Linked DNA regions of Homo sapiens: region 1 is linked to region 2. Evidence: promoter capture Hi-C in human tissues and cell types (Jung and others, 2019). All regions are on one chromosome and are shown on one strand. The core of a region is centred on a gene start or on the middle of the fragment in contact, and the rest is flanking DNA. Distances in the headings are between cores, read along the strand shown. Region 1 has its middle 23 kb from the start of UGT2A3. Region 2 holds the start of UGT2B15 (UDP glucuronosyltransferase family 2 member B15).

Evidence for each region. The method cuts DNA at HindIII sites, captures the fragments that hold promoters and counts their contacts. A contact is called where the count stands out against the background at its distance.
Region 1: a fragment that was not itself captured here is called in contact with the fragment with the promoter of UGT2B15 in region 2 in 2 of the 25 tissues and cell types used here (H1 embryonic stem cells and dorsolateral prefrontal cortex).

What each region holds. Positions count from the first base shown.
Region 1 is chr4:68,973,495-68,976,832 of GRCh38, reverse strand. It overlaps the pseudogene LOC100289568. Among named protein-coding and RNA genes, the nearest start is that of UGT2A3, 23 kb to the right of the region's middle. The HindIII fragment of the contact is 3,307 bases long and covers 366-3,338 here.
Region 2 is chr4:68,669,278-68,672,554 of GRCh38, reverse strand. UGT2B15 (UDP glucuronosyltransferase family 2 member B15) reads left to right here and starts at 1,903. Exons shown (of 6, transcript NM_001076.4): 1 at 1,903-2,660. The coding sequence starts at 1,937. The HindIII fragment of the contact is 11,998 bases long and covers 1-3,277 here.

The DNA.
Region 1 (3,338 bases), core at 770-3,269, 300 kb before region 2:
CCTCAGTGTGGCATCCCTGTAGCTAGGTACACAAAGCAGACGCCAAGATCTGTGGGCCAATCACTGTGATTACTACTCTTACTTTTGGTCTCAAATTTACCCCAGGTGGTTCAGCCCTGTGAACACTCTCAATACCTCTTGTGGGGTGGGACAAATGTGGGCTTTCCCTCCAAATTTACAGACCCATGAAGAAATTATATGTCCACTTGAAATTCCCTCCTCCCATTTCAATAACTGCAGGTAAAAAGAAGTTATCTCACAGTGGTGTCATTTTTGTGTGTGGAAGGGGTTGGTATAGCCCCCAAAAATTATTCATCTTACCAATCATAAGTTTGTCATGTCCGTAAGTCTTGGGGTTTTCTCCTTCTCTATTGAGATCTGGTGAATTCAGAGTGGCATTTGTGTATTTGGATAGCTACTAGTTGTACTTTTGTTGGGGAATTGATGTTGGATTTTTAAAATTTTATTATTTTGTTGACATCACAAAATGCCAACAAATTGACACTTGATATTGTTGAAATAGTTTTATGAGTTTACTAACCATTATGTTTTTAGAATTTGATGTCTACCAAATATTAAACAAGATGGACATTTCTCACTTAAATGTTCTGTATAACTATGTGGTTGTGTGCTTTTTCTAGTAAATAATTATTATGTACTGAAGACATATGTTTCTAACACAAACTTTCTCATTTCTATGCTAAAATGCATCTCAGAATACAGGGACAATACAACTATATATATGTCAACTTCAAAATTTTATTTTAGAAGTATGCATAAACTGTATTATTCTATTTGGCATTGCATCTTTATAATGAAGAAAATTTTTTTTTCTGTAGGAAATAGAAGAATTTTTCCAGCGCTCTGATAAGGATGGTGTTGTTGTGTTTTCTCTGGAGTCAGTTGTGAAAAACCTTACAGAAGAAAAGGTTTATCTTATCACTTCCGCCCTGGCTCAGATTCCACAAAAAGTCAGTAGAACCTCCAATCCTTATAAGAAGCTATTCACACAATAGAGAAAGTATGGCTTTCCATTTGGAACTTGAATCTCATTTTTCAATTTGCGTAACAGGCGTTAGATTTACGTAACAATTTGGAAAACATTATGGTTGTGTATGTGGACACAACTGATTATTTGCCTAGTGATCTTTTCTATTGCTTTAGTAACACATCTCTTGCTTGTCATTTGTTAATAATAAAATAAAAATAGTGCATTAAGTCCCTATTCCACATTGCAGGATTTGAAATCTTGAGACATATTCTGATGACTCCAAAGGAAACTTTTTAAATATACTAGCTCAAAGGAATATAAAAATTGGGGAATTATATAAGAGAAGAATCATGCTCAATAGTATTCTCAACATATTTGATTATATAGGAACTCTATTCCACGTATTTGAACATAAAAGTAGAAGCTTAAATTTATGTAGTCTTTCTAATGAACTAGAGTTTTCTATAGTTAAAAGGCAATTATGGTTTTAATATTATAGTCTAGCAACCTGCATGTAATTCTTTATGATATTCAATTAGTTTTGTTATTACTGTAATTCTAGTTTTCCTCTCTTTAGTTAGTGCTATTTATACACCAGCCTAGAGGTTTTTTTTTTAATTTTATGTTTAGTTAAATTTCAAAACACTCAATAAAAGCAAGTATGGTAAATAGGAATGTGAAATTGGTTTTAGTCATGAGATTCTCGTTTTGGGAGTTCAGAGTATCTATGTAATCCTTTGTTTTCAAGTGTGAGATTTTCATATACGTTTCTAGAAAGAAAAAAGTATGGAACTAAGATACAAATACAAACAAAATTTAACCTTCAACAATGAAATATAGGTAACTCCTCTCTCTTTGTTTTTTAATTAAAGATAAATGAAATAAAGGAGAGAAGGAGGCATGAAGAGAAAAGACAACCAACTACCCAAAACCAGACAAAAACCAAAGCAATGTTTGTCTCTGGGAAACTATAAATTTGATAATAGAGCTAGAATGGCCAAGTGATTTACATTTACACAGAAGTTGTGTGTCCGTAAGAAATTGAACTTCCATATGCTGACAAATTAGCCAACACTGCTTTATTTTTTTGTTATTTTTATAATCTCACTCCTAGATGATTTGAGTTTGCAGGAAACAAAATAATAAATGGTATCCCCAAGAGTTTAATGGTACCTACCCTTTTAAGAGGTGACTGTCAACAGTCTTACTATTTTTTTCAGTGATTACATAGGACCCTTATATGCTCCTGTCTCAAATATCATCTGAAATAAAGTGGATTGTATGAATTATAATGATCTGAAAACTCAAAATGCTATTATCTTGTGGTTTAACTTGTGAAATGCATACATTTACTTCCTCAGGTTTTATAGAGATTCAAAGGAAAGAAACCAGCTACACTGGGAACCAATACTCAGCTCTACGTTTGGATATGCCAGAGCGATCTTCATGATAAGATTATGACGTAGTAAAAATGAGGAATTTCATAAGGGAAAAATTGAATAACTGTTTAACACCTAATAAATTTAACAAAAATTTAAAATTTATAGTTTGTTATTTTACCTTTAATTTTAAAGTATATATAATTGAGTAATTGTTGGTCATTATATTTTTTGATTCTTACTTTTATTTTTAAAGTAAGTTTCAAGCAATGCAGAAATAAATTAATGCCTCTTTTCCTTAAGAAAGCAAATTTCTTTTGCAATGATGCCCTTTTTGTTCACTTTTGTAGAAAATTCTGCCCTCTTCAGTGAGTTATTTCAAAGATTTTTTCCCTACATGTCTCTGAAATTCTTTTAAGAATTGTGATAATAAAAACCATACTTCTTATTCAGTTTCCCAACTAGGTCATGCACAAACCAAAGCTTTTATCACTCATGGTGATATAAATGGGGTCTATGAAGCTATTTACCATGGAGTCCCTATGGTGGGAGTTTCCTATGTTTGGTGATCATCTTGACAACACCTCTCACATGAAAGCCAAAGGAGCAGCTGTGCAGCTGAACATGAATACAATTACAGGTACAGATTTGCTTAGGTCTTTGAGAACAGGTATCAATAATCTTTTGTAAGTATTACTGCTTTAAAAGGCTTATCTACCATTGATTATGTTATATATCATACTAGAAAATGTTAGGGCCATACTGGAAGACTATTTAAAAGATCTTCCCTCTCAATCTCAGGTATTATCATCTTAGTATTGCCATTATCTTAGTATTGCAATGATTATATCATCAGGTATAATCATCTTAGTATTGCAATAGTCCTGGAAATGATAGTTCATAGAGTGTCAATCCTCCTTCTTGGAAACAGTAGATTTAAATTAACAACCAGCTTACTAAGTATTTTT
Region 2 (3,277 bases), core at 654-3,153:
CGAGAGAACAGGGAAAAAGGAGACCATCCTGGACAGCTGGAGGGAGACGATAAAAGGAGTTATCGTCTCCGCTGCCTTTTTGGTTCCTGGAACGGGATGAAATGGCTTAGAGGCATCCCCCTAAGACCAGATGACCAGCGAGTGCCTGGCGCACGCTGGCGCCTTCTTGGATCAGTGTTGGATTTTTGGACTGGAGAAACCAAGAGAGGCCATGTAGATTTTGCCCTGTTAACCGGGCTCCAAGGGAAACTTACCAGTAGGCGAGATCAGTGGCTGATGCGCATGCACAGAGAGGCGACTGGAGGCTGAGGAGCTTCCTCTGTCTAATTGCTGTGGCCTGCTCTCTGGGGTGGAGGGATAGGTCCACAAGCGACACAGACCTGAGCCCCTCCTAGGATTTGGCACCAGATGTAAGGTTCTTGAATCAGTTTGAACCCCAACAGCGCGCCAACAGACAACAGGAGGCGGTGTGGAGCAACATGCTGTTTTAATGAACGCCTGGTTGCAGGTGGGCTGAGGCCTAAAATGGCATCAGCCCCAAGTGAGGATGGGACAGGGGTTTTGTAGTCCTCTGTAAACAGTAAGTGTCCCAGTCTGTTGTGACTGCTATGTAGTACCTGGATGGCCTATTTCTTGATCTTCAGGGGTACATCTCTTCCAGCCAGGGTAAGTGTCTTCTGGCCGGCTCTCTTCCTGCTTCTGCTATCTTGCTGACACACGCTGCTGATGCAAGTGGTCTTGCATCTTGGGGCTGGGCCTGAGAAGGGAGGAGTTACTCATCCCTTCAAGCCTTCAGGTCCTGAGGAGAATCTTTGAACCCCCTGCATCACTGGCCACCCTCCTGATAGATCCCTGTGATGCCAGGCAGGAATGAGCCGCTTGGGTATCCAGAGAGCTCCCAGTGCCTTTCTGCTACTTCCTCTACCCCTGTATTTTGCTTGGCTTGGTTCTCTAATTTGACTCAGCTTCACATAAAGTCAGGAACTTCTCCTGCAAACAGAACTTCAGCTTCTCCAGTGGGGATGTGTATTCTGGAGAGGGGGATCACCCTTTCCCACTTCCATTGTTGGGGCACTCACAGTGTTTGGGATGTCTCCCAGGTCCTGCAGGAGCAGTACTCTTCCTGCAGAGGGTGTGTGGATCCTCTCAGAATTGCTGGTCTGTTCTTGCAGTTGATCTGCAGCTAAAATTCACAATGCAAGCCTCTGCATGCTGCTCTGTCTGGAGCTGCAATCTAGTCCTGCATCCCATCTGCCATGATCACTGGAAAACCCTCATTTATTTTTTAAAGGGTCCAGAAAATGCTAATCTATAGAGATAGAAATTAGATTAGTGGTTGCCTAGGGTAGGATGGATGCAAAATTTCAGAGTGGGGGGTTAGAGGCTATTGTATAGAATCTTTTGGAGATAATACTGATTATTGTAGTGGATGTAAAATTCTGTGAATATACTAGGAAACATTGAACTGTACACACTAATTGGTGAGTCATATGGTATATGAATTATGTGTCAACAAAGTTTTAGAAGACATTACTTGCACCACGATATTAAAAAATGCCGTTTGAGTTGTATAATTACTTCTTCTCTCTATGTCAAGGGCACCGAACAGGCAGGAGCCTCTCACTTGCCACTGTTCTTAACAGTATTATAAAATAATTACATAAGACAGGTTACTTACATATTCTAGGTCATAAAAATTATTGCTTGACTAGAGTAATTGTAAACATAAAAGAACACCAAACACACTAAAATAAATATGAGGTCATCAATCTTTTGTTGGTCTCCTTGGCATGCACCTATTCAGACTGTTAGTATTATGTATTTACTTCAAATTTTAGCAGTTATATTTTAACTTGATTGATTTTTCCTCAGATATAAGTATGAGAAATGACAGAAAGAAACAACAACTGGAAAAGAAGCATTGCATAAGACCAGGATGTCTCTGAAATGGACGTCAGTCTTTCTGCTGATACAGCTCAGTTGTTACTTTAGCTCTGGAAGCTGTGGAAAGGTGCTAGTGTGGCCCACAGAATACAGCCATTGGATAAATATGAAGACAATCCTGGAAGAGCTTGTTCAGAGGGGTCATGAGGTGACTGTGTTGACATCTTCGGCTTCTACTCTTGTCAATGCCAGTAAATCATCTGCTATTAAATTAGAAGTTTATCCTACATCTTTAACTAAAAATTATTTGGAAGATTCTCTTCTGAAAATTCTCGATAGATGGATATATGGTGTTTCAAAAAATACATTTTGGTCATATTTTTCACAATTACAAGAATTGTGTTGGGAATATTATGACTACAGTAACAAGCTCTGTAAAGATGCAGTTTTGAATAAGAAACTTATGATGAAACTACAAGAGTCAAAGTTTGATGTCATTCTGGCAGATGCCCTTAATCCCTGTGGTGAGCTACTGGCTGAACTATTTAACATACCCTTTCTGTACAGTCTTCGATTCTCTGTTGGCTACACATTTGAGAAGAATGGTGGAGGATTTCTGTTCCCTCCTTCCTATGTACCTGTTGTTATGTCAGAATTAAGTGATCAAATGATTTTCATGGAGAGGATAAAAAATATGATACATATGCTTTATTTTGACTTTTGGTTTCAAATTTATGATCTGAAGAAGTGGGACCAGTTTTATAGTGAAGTTCTAGGTAAGTCATGTGTCTAACTGGTGCTTATTAAGTTCTAACTTTTCTGTGCCTTTGAAGGTGAGCTTATATAAATATAATGTCAGAAGATAGTGTTTTTAAGGGAAATTATGAATTGCAAATGTAAGATGATCTATCAGTCTCAAAAATATTATAGAATGTTGACCTTATAGAATCAGTTAGAACCCTGGGGCCATCACTACTACAGGACACCCAGAGAGTCATAAACCTTCATTGTAAAGCACTAATGATTTCTTTAAACTATCACATATCATTTTGCTATACATTTTTTCATCTTTAAAAAAAGTCAATAGATACCTCAAGAAACATCTTCATGAAGGCAGACACATAAATTTAGTATTTACACATATTTCTAGAAAAATTATCAATGCAGGATTGAGGAATTTGTTTCTCTTTGAGTTCCTCAGTTTCCTCATTTAGAAATTAAATTTTGTTTTTCATGTAAGAAGGATTCCTTCACAGTTGAGTAATATAGTGGCTCTACTCCAGAAACAGAAGCCTAAAACTTGAGATTTCTAATGTTTATACATTCCTTCAATAACAGGTTGACAATTATTTCTTTCAAAAACTGAAATCTTGTTGAAAGTGAACATCTAAGT